2 separate regions of the Homo sapiens genome follow, and region 1 is linked to region 2. Evidence: promoter capture Hi-C in human tissues and cell types (Jung and others, 2019). All regions are on one chromosome and are shown on one strand. Each heading gives the region's core, a stretch centred on a gene start or on the middle of the fragment in contact. The rest is flanking DNA. Distances are from core to core; before and after follow the strand shown. Region 1 overlaps HK1 (hexokinase 1). Region 2 holds the start of HKDC1 (hexokinase domain containing 1).

Region 1 (5,297 bases), core at 2,549-5,048, 130 kb before region 2:
AGTGAGTGGGTTCTCATGAGACCTTATGGTTTTATAAGGAGCTCTTCCCCCTTCGCTCAGCACTTCTCCTTCCTGCCGCTTTGTGAGGAAGATGCCTTTTCTCCTTCCACCATGATTGTAAGTTTCCTGAGGCCTCCCCAGCCATGCTGAACTGTGAGTCAACTAAACTTCTTTCCTTTATAAATTACCCAGTCTTAGGCAGTTCTTTTTAACAGTATGAAAACGGACTAATACAGCACCCCTGCTTGCTGTTTATTAAGCACAAAGCAGTTACGCCATCATGTGAGACACACACAGAGGAAAAACCAGAGTATGTTTTTCCTTTTCTCTACTCACCACAACACAGAACACACCTGTGACCCTGGATGCATGTGGGTTTTTCCCCACACACCAAGCAAGTAATTCTGCAGTGAATTCTCCAGTGAACACCAGCTCCATGCTCTCTAATTCAATTCAATTATTTCACTAGCTACCTGGAGATAGCATCATATCCCACAGGTCGAGGGCTCGTTCACACGAGGCTGCCCTCCCTCCAACTTCAGACACCAGTCACAAGCACAGGTTGTGGCCTGTGCTTCTGGCTGATCACTATAAATCGGGGTTCCTACAACCCCCTCCTTGGGTTGCATTAGTTTGCTACGGCAGCTCACAGACCCAGAAAAAACACTTCACTTACATTTACATATTTACTATAAAGGATATTACAATAAATACAGATGAAGAACTGGATGGAAGAGATACACAGGGAGGGGCATGGGAGAAAGGGCAGGAGTTTCCATGCCCCCTCCAGATGTGCCACCCAGGAACCTCCATGTGTTCAGCTAGACAGAAGCTACCAGAACTCAGTCATTCTAGGTTTTCTTCTTTTTGCTTTTTTTTTTTTTTTTTGGTTTTGTTTGTTTGTTCTTTGAGTCAGGGTCACACTCTGTCACCCAGGCTGGAGTGCAGTGCAGTTGCATGATCACAGCTTACTGCAGCCTCAACCTCCAGAGCCCAAGCGATCCTCCCACCTCAACCTCCCGAGTAGCTGGAACTACCGGCACGTGCCACCACATCTGGCTAACTTTTTTTTGTATTTTGTGTAGTGACAGGGTTTTACCATGTTGCCCAAGCTAGTCTCAAACTCTTAGGCTCAAGCGATCCACCCACCTGGGCCTCCCAAAATGCTGGGATTACAGGCGTGAGCCATCATACCTGGCCTGTTTTAGGTTTTTGTGGAAGCACCATTACACAGTTGCGATTGATTAAATCATCGACCATTGGTTTATTCGCTCTATTTTCAGGCTCTCTCCCTCCCTGGAGGCGGCATGGGGGTTGGGGCTGACAGCAACCCTCTGATCACATGGTTGGTTCCCCCTGGCAACCAGCCCCCCATCCTGAGGCTATCCAGGGTCCCACCAAGGAACAAAAGAGACTCTCCTATCACCCAAGAAATTCCAAGGGATTTAGGAGCTCTGAGTCAGGACCAGGATCAAAGATTCTCCTAGCACCTGTATTGCTCAAGAAATTACAAGGGTTTTAGAAGCTAAATGCTAGAGACTAGGGGCAGAGACCAACATGTATATTTCTTATTATTTCACATATTGGTTGGTTGTTTTTTTAATAACAGTTTTATTGAGATATAATAATATAGCATACAATTTTTACCCATTTTAAAGTGAAAAATTCAGTGGTTTTCAGCATATTTACAGAGTTGTGCAACCATCACCACTATCTAATTTTAGAAAATTTTCATCATCCCAAAAGAAATTCCATACCCATTAACAACCATTCACCATTTCCTCCCAACCTCCCTATCTCCCAGCAACCACTAATGTACTTTCTGCTCTACAGATGCCCCTATTCCAGACATTTCATATAAGTGGAATTGTATAATATTAGGTCCTTTGTGTCTGGCTTCTTTCACCCGGCATAAGGTTTTCAAGGCTCATCCATGCTGTAGCGTGGATCAGTACCTCATTCCTTTTTATGAACCGATTATATTCCATTATATGTATATATCACATGAAGCCACTGGTTTTAAATTATTTGTGGTCCAAAGGAAAGAGAGAGAACAAGGGAGAATGCTGGGAAGCAGGTGTCATAGATTTGGTGGAAATTCTGACCCCGACTTTGTGGCATTGTTCAAATCAATATAGAATTTTCTTTGGGCTCCCATTGGAGTCCTAACTCCAACAGTACTTTACACCACCACTAGGTTAAAAAATTGAATTCAGCCGGGCGCAGTGGCTCATGCTTGTAATCCCAGAACTTTGGGAGGCTGAGGCGGGTGGATCACTTGAGGTCAGGAGTTCGAGACCAGCCTGGCCAACATGGAGAAACCCTGTCTCTACTAAAAATACAAAAATTAGCTGGGTGTAGTGGTAGGTGCCTGTAATCCCAGCTACTCAGGAGGCTGAGGCAGGAGAATCGCTTGAACCCAGGAGGCGGAGGTTGTAGTGAGCCGAGATCATGCCACTGCACTCCAGCCTGGGCAACAGAGCAAGACTCTGTCTCAAAAAAAAAAAAAAATTGAAATAACTGAAAAAATTGAATTCAGTATGAAGTAGCTCCTCGCAGGTGAGTCACTAGAATATCAGAAACATTTTATTTGACCATCCATCAGCTAACATTCACTGAGTCTTTCTGTACCAATCACTAAGTGCTTATACGTATCCTTTTATTTTCAATCTTCACAACCCTATGAAGTCAGTACTGTCAGGATGCCCATTCTACAGATGAGCAAGTAAAGGTAAAGAGGGGTTAGATAACTTGCCCAAACGCACAACCAGTAAGTGGCAGAGTCAGCATTTGAATCCGAAGCCATAATGTATAACCATGAAAACTGCCTCCTGGACAGAACTCAGGGACAAGGATCCCCAAGGAAAGTGGGGGCCAGAGAGAGACTTCAGCACATCAGGAATGGCTACACTTCTTTTCTGGGGCTCTTCAACTTCCATGATTCCTTATAGCTTTGGGTTTTTTTGTTTTGTTTTTTTTGTTTTTGTTTTTGTTTTTGAGACGGAGTCTCACTCTTGTTGCCCAGGCTGGACGGCAATGGCGCGATCTCGGCTCACTGCAACCTCCGCCTCCGGGGTTCAAGCGATTCTCTTGCCTCAGCCTCCCCAGTAGCTGGGATTACAGCCACCCACCACCACGCCCAGCTCATTTTTTGTATTTTTAGTAGAGACGAGGTTTCACCACCTTGGCCAGGTTGGTCTCAAACTCCTGACCTCAGATGATCCGACTGCCCTGGCCTCCCAAAGTGCTGGGATTATAGGCGTGAGCCACCGTGCCTGGCCTAGCTTTGGTTTTATTTATTTATTTATTTATTTATTTATTTATTTAATTTTGAGACGGAGTCTCGCTCTGTCGCCCAGGCTGGAGTGCAGTGGCGTGATCTTGGCTCACTGCAAGCTCCACCTCCCAGGTTCACATCATTCTCCTGCCTCAGCCTCCCAAGTAGCTGGGACTACAGGAGCCCGCCACCACGCCCAGCTAATTTTTTTTTTTTTTTTTTTAGTAGAGACGGGGTTTCACTGTGTTAGCCAGGATGGTCTCGATCTCCTGACCTCGTGATCCGCCTGCCTTGGCCTCCCAAAGTGCTGGGATTACAGGCGTGAGCCACGGCGCCCGGCCAGCTTTGGTTTTATTTTGCTTCATTCTCTAATGAAGACAGTGAAAGCTCAGTCTGATAAACAACTATAAACCACTTGTGCATAGGGGGAAAAGGGGCACAAAAGCAAATACTACACTGAGATGAAATGATCGGTACTTTTTATTTTAATATTTTACTTAATTAATTTGCTGTTTTAATGTTCACCTAAACATTTATTTATTTCATGTTTTTGTTTGTTTGTTTTTTTGAGATGGAGTCTCACACTGTTGCCCGGGCTGGAGTGCAATGGCGCAATCTTGGTTCACTGCAACCTCCAACTCCCGGGTTCAAGCAATTCTCCTGCCTCAGCCTCCCGAGTAGCTGGGTCTACAGGCATGCACCACCACGCCCAACTAATTTTTGTATTTTTTAGTAGAGACGGAGTTTCACCATTTTGGCCAGGATGGTCTCGATCTCTTGACCTTGTGATCCGCCCACCTCGGCCTCCCAAAGTGCTGGTCCTATACGCTGCCGGGCAAAAGACACTGAGGAATGATGTCTGTTAAGGACAACAAGATAACTGATAAACTTTCCTGGATGTCCAGCATCTCTTTAGATAACTACCCTCCCATTTTTCACCTATGAGGTTGGAAGTGGGGCTGAATCCCCACTCCAGCTCCAGGGGTACCAATGCGTAATCCAGGCATGGGATCCAGGGGCATCCCAAGTCACCCATCTTGTCCATCGTGATTGGTTCAGGATGGGCACATAACCCAAGTAAGCCAATCACAGCCCTCTCCAAGACCATCACAGGTCCATGGGGAGCAAGGCCTGCTCTTTGCACAGAGATCGCTGGCTATAAGGGGAGGGGTCAGCCTAGGGCTGCAGGGGCCGTCCCTGCCACTGTAAGAGGAGAGATGGCCTATGAATGAAGCCAACACACAGGAAAGGAGCTGACTGAACTAGTAAGAGACAGATGAATCCCTAGATACAGAAGTCAACTCACAGCGAGACTTCCCAGTTATAGGAAACTAGAATTCTCTTTTTTTCTTAAACAAATTTGAGTCAGATTTCCTTCAGCTACAACCAGAAGGTTTCCAGGTTAGTTCAATATTCTTTGTCAGGAAATGAATCCCCCAAATACCCACTTGCCCTCCATAACAAAAGGGACCTATCAGTCCCTTTTACCTCGGGTTGGCTCCCTGATTCAGAGCTGTCGTGTCCAGTCACCCCCTTGCAGAGGTACTGGAGCTGTAGCCTGTGGTCTCACCCACATTTTATGTGGCTAGCTCAGGGGTTGGGGGTGAGACAGCCTGCCTTGGCTTGCCCCTTTTCTCTGCCTCCTTCCCCTGTAACATCACAGAGATGCCAGCGAATCCTGAAAAACTCTGCATCCTTCCTGCAGGGGCTCGGCTTACACATTCAGGCCTGCTGGGTGCGGTCCTTGGACTGGCTCCATTGGTTAGGAAAGACTTTCCCAAGGAATTCTTCCAAAGCCAGTTATTATATCATAAGACTGATGAGGATGACGATGACGCACCATAACTCACGGTGGTTTGCAGTTTCCAAAGACTCTCATTTGATCCTGATGATAGCCTGGTGAGGCAGGTGGGGCAGGGATTACCATGGCCATTTTACCCATGAGGAAATGGAGGCTCAGAAGTTAAGTGGCTTCTCCAAGGTCACACAGGTTGGGAGTGGCAAACCCAGAGACCGATTC
Region 2 (4,848 bases), core at 533-3,032:
AGTAGTTGGGATTACAGGCGCACTCCACCACGCCCAGCTAATTTTTAAATTTTTAGTAGAGACGGGGTTTCACCATGTTGGCCAGGGTGGTCTCAACCTCCTGACCTCAGGTGATCCACCCACCTTGGCCTCCCAAAGTGCTGGGATTATAGGTATGAGCCACCATCCTTGGCCTTTTTTTTTCTTTTCTTTCCTTTTTTTTTCAGACAGGGTCTCACTCTGTCACCCAGGCTGGAGTGCAGTAGCGCAGTCTCCCGGGCTCAAGCCATCCTGCCACCGCAGCCTCCCGAGTAGTTGGGACTGTAGGCACACACCACCATGACCGGCTAATTTTTACATGTTTTGTAGAGATGGGGTTGCTCCATGTTGCCCAGGCTGGTCTCAAACTCCTGACCTCAAGTTTGAGATGAGATCTGCTCATCTCAGCCTCCCAGTGTATGCAGATTACAGCCGTGAGCCACGGTGCCTGGCCTCCTTATTCATTTTGTAAAGCAGGAGGGAGTCATGGCACAGCAGAAAGCATTGAAGGAAGAGTCAGCCAACTTGGATTTAATCCTCATTCCATCCTAAATACTTGGTGACCTTGGCTAAGTCCTCCTGCTAGGAGGACTTCTGTCATCTGCACTTTGAGAGATGCTTTTTGCCCAGGGCCGTGACAGCCAGCCGGTGTGGCCAGAGTAGCAGACTGGGCTCATTTTAGCTGCCTGGAAAGAACCCTGGTTCCCTCCTGTTGACCCTTGGCAACCTTTAACCAGCCCACTTTGGAATGAATTTTGTAGACAAGTTCCCTGAGCAAAGTGACAAAATAATGCACACCATGAATAGTGTACCATTGGCAAATAGCAGGTGCCAATAATAGATATTTCAATTACTGTCTATTGCAACTCACACCTTCTTGCTGCCCACATTTATATGCTTTCAAATACATGAACAAACAGATCTGCCCCAACAGTTCTTTTTTTTTAGATGAAGTCTCACTCTTGTCCCCTAGGCTGGAGTGCAATGGCGCGATCTCGGCTCACTGCAACCTCCACCACCTGGGTTCAAGCGATTCTCCTGCCTCAGCCTCCCGAGTAGATGGGATTACAGGTGCCCGCCACCACACCCAGCTAATTTTTGTATTTTTAGTTGAGACGGGGTTTCACCATGTTGGCCAGGCTGGTCTCGAACTCCTGACCTCAGGTAATCCGCCCACCTCGGCCTCCTAAAGTGCTAGGATTACAGGCGTGAGCCACTGCGCCCAGCCTTCTGCTCCAACAGTTCTTAAAACTTCTTTGAAAATGATTCTCCTCGCCTTTGTGGCCTTTCCGAGCAAACATCCCTTACAGCAAACACAATCCTCTTCAAGCTTTCCAAACACCCTCCTCACCCGCTTCCGCATCCAATACCTGCCAGGAAGTTCCGAGTGAAGTGTAAGGTTCAGGACAGTAATGCAATGCCCAGGAGTGTGGGAGAATTACTCCCTCTTCCCTCAGTGAGTCTTTTACTGGTCATATGCTCCCAGTATCTTTTCTAATAAGCTCTCTTCACTCCCTTCTGATTTTTTTTTTAAGGGAATCAGTTTTGTCCGTGAAGAAGGAGCTGGGCATCTCTCAGCTTCGTGGGTCCTCCTTACCTTCTTGATCTGGTCCTCCTTCAGCTTGCTGAAGTAAAATGCCATCAAGTGGACCGCAAACATTTTCCCCAAGTTTGGTTTCTCCTGAGATGGGCAGAGATTCCTGTGCAGTGTTCACTCCTACGACTCTGGAGTGTTGCACGCTTCCAGTCCAGGCTGGCAGACCTCCTGGGGAGCGAGGTGTTGCGGACTAAATACCTCCAGCCTGCTTGGTTCAATGATTAAACTCCCCCCCACCCCACCCCTTTGGTCCCTCCCTCTGGCACACACTTGATTGTCTAATAGGAGGCTCTGGATGGTAGCTGAGGTTTAGTGGAGGGGGAAGCAGGGTATTGATGGGTTGCTTGACTACTTGAGAATTGGGTGCCACCAAATCTCATTGCTAAGCAACCCTCTCAAGCCGGGGCTCTGCCAAGCCCACTCAGCCGAGGAAAATCTTCTGCGAAGTTGGGCACTAAACAAAGCCAACTTTCAACCGGTGGAGCTGCTCTGCAAATTTCCAGTCCCAGGCTTTTCTCTTTAGTTTTTTATGCCAGTGGCATAACTCTGTGACCCCCTGCTCCTCAGAAGCACTGAACTAACTAAAACTAAACATTGTCCTGGTCAATGGGATTTCAAGAATGTTGGGGCAGATTCTTCCATTTGTGACAGATCAGATCTCTTAACTAATAGCCCATGGTTAACAGAAAATGATCAATAAATGTTTACCTATTCACAGTGTTAAGCCAGAAAATCTTTAGTTCACAGGTAGTGACCCAGGAAAAAATATTCCTGAGAAAGAGTGAACTGAAGTCACCAGTGCTCACTGGGAATCACTGCTGGAGAGAAGGAAGTCACAGATAAGAAATGTCTCAGTCCAGCCGGGTGCAGTGACTCACGCCTGTAACAATCGCAGCACTTGGGGAGGCCGAGGCAGGCAGATCATGAGGTCAGGAGTTCGAGACCAGCCTGGCCAACATGGTGAAACCCCATCTCTACTAAAAATACAAAAAACTTAGCCAGGAGTGGTGGCAGGTGCCTGTAATCCCAGCTACTTGGGAGGCTGAGGCAGGAGAATCACTTGAACCTGGGAGGCAGAGGTTGCAGTGAGCCGAGATCGCGCCATTGCACTCCAGCCTGGGTGACAAGAGCAAAACTCCATCTCAAAAAAAGAAAAAAAAGAGAAATGTCTCAGGCCACTGAGATGTTTTATTCACTCACTTCTCACTCATCATACTTGACATGAGAAGGACCCAGAAAGCACCCAATACATGGGTACAATCAACCTTGCACTCTTCCCACAGTCACTGGCTGGCTAATGAAACCAATAACAACAGCGTTAACAACAGCGGCTAACATGGATGGAGCATTTACCAATCCCATTTTGTTTTTATTACTCTTGTTATTATTATTTTTTAGACAGGGTCTCATTCATCCCCCAGGCTGGAATGCAGTCGTGGAATCATGACTCGCTGCAACATCAGCCTTCTGGGCTCAGGTGATCCTCCCATCTCAATCCCCAGGGTAGCTGGGGCTACAGGCACGTGGCACCATGCCCAGCTAATTTTTGTATTTTTGTAGAGATAGGGTTTTGCCATGTTGCCCTGGCTGGTCTTGAATTCCTGGGCTCAAGCGATTTACCCACCTCAGCCTCCCAAAGTGTTGGAATTACAGGCATGAGCCACTGCTCCCGGCCCACTCTTATTTTATAGATGAAAAAATTGAGGCCCAGAAAGGTTACGTGATCACAAAGCCATAAACAGGACAGCAAGGGGTCAATCCTGGAAGTTTGATTCCAGGGCCCAGCTATAATACATGGCATTGGCTCTCCAGCCCTGCTTTCTCCACGCAATAGATACTCAATAGATACGCAATTGATAACTATTAGTAGCAGCATTCTGTTGGGATGTTAAGAATTTGTTTTTCTTTTTCTTTTTTTTGAGACAGAGTCTCACTCTGTTGCCCAGGCTGGAGTACAGTGGCTCAATCTCAACTCACTGCAACCTCCACCTCCTGGGTTAAAGCAATTCTCCTGCCTCAGCCTCCTGAGTAGCTGGAATTCAGTGCTCTCTACCCATTGCCGTGTGGACGAGCCATCAGGTCTCACTTAAGCCCACAATGCAGAGGAGGCTCGGTTAAAATTACTCCAGATGCTTTATTCAGATTGATATAAGCATATTAAAACTGTCTCCCAGATTGAGGATCCCCATCCTTTTCAGTCAATTTACCCTCAGACTATGACTTTTAGCTTGCTCCTTTATTACACAAGCAAACAAAGATGAACCTTTAGTTCCCCAAACCATTCAGTGCCCCAAACCAGGTGGAATTGTTGGTATTCTGAAATGCGCATCCTAGGCCCTAGCCCCCATTGGCTGAGGATAACATCCTGGGAAGGCCATCTGCCCGTAAGTGATGACATTATTTATCCTAATTCCCCCACTAGTTGATTTATTTCAGAAACAGAGTCTCACTACATCTTGTCTTGCCCAGGCTGGATTTGAACTCCATCCAGTCTTGCCCAGGCTGGATTCGAACTCCTGGGCTCAAGTGATCCTCTGGCTTCAGCCTCCTGAGTAGCTAGGACTACAGGCTTGCATCACCACACCCAGCATTTAATTCCCCCATTTAAAAAGTAACCTGGGCTGGGCGCAGTGGCTCACACCTGTAATCCCAGCACTTTGGGAGGCTGAGGTGGGAGGTGGGCAGATTGCCTGAGGTCAGGAGTTCGAGACCAGCCTTGCCAACATGGTGAAACCCTGTCTCTACTAAAAATGCAAAAATTACCTGGGCATGGTGGCGGGTGCCTGCAATCCCAGCTACTCAGGAGACAGAGGTAGGAGAACTGTTTAAACCCAGGAGGTGGAGGTTGCAGTGAGCCAATATTGCACCACTGCACTCCAGCCTGGGCAACAGAGTGAGACTCCATTTCAAAAAAAAAAAAAAATGTAACCTGGGCAGTGCAGTATGAACCAACTGTCATTGATTTGTTCGACATAGGGATAAGAGGTTACAGTAGCCAGTGGTCAAAAGATGCAAACCATAACCAAAGATCTCTGTAATCTCACGGTTGCTTGTGTGAGTCAGATAGGCAGCCTTTGGAATTTTAATCAGGCAAATGACACCAGAGGATTTTCATCTATTGCATCATTCCCTTTTTAATCTGAGCACATTAGCGTCTACATTCCAGGCCTGAGTAAGGTGACTAAACCAGGAAGTTTAATGATTACAGAGATCACATGCATTTGGAGTCATCT

What was found. Contacts are between HindIII fragments. The study calls those that stand out against the background at their distance.
Region 1: a contact is called between a fragment that was not itself captured here and the fragment with the promoter of HKDC1 in region 2, in 4 of the 25 tissues and cell types used here (heart right ventricle, mesendoderm cells, stomach and 1 more).

Annotation. Positions count from the first base shown.
Region 1 is chr10:69,349,210-69,354,506 of GRCh38, reverse strand. All of the region lies in intron 2 of HK1 (hexokinase 1), which reads right to left. Among named protein-coding and RNA genes, the nearest start is that of HK1, 33 kb to the right of the region's middle. The HindIII fragment of the contact is 8,896 bases long and covers 1-5,297 here.
Region 2 is chr10:69,217,266-69,222,113 of GRCh38, reverse strand. It overlaps HKDC1 (hexokinase domain containing 1), which reads right to left and starts at 1,782. Exons shown (of 18, transcript NM_025130.4): 1 at 1,616-1,782. The coding sequence starts at 1,678. All of the region lies in intron 4 of LOC101928994 (a long non-coding RNA gene), which reads left to right. RefSeq lists an enhancer at 3,756-3,925. The HindIII fragment of the contact is 7,476 bases long and covers 1-4,848 here.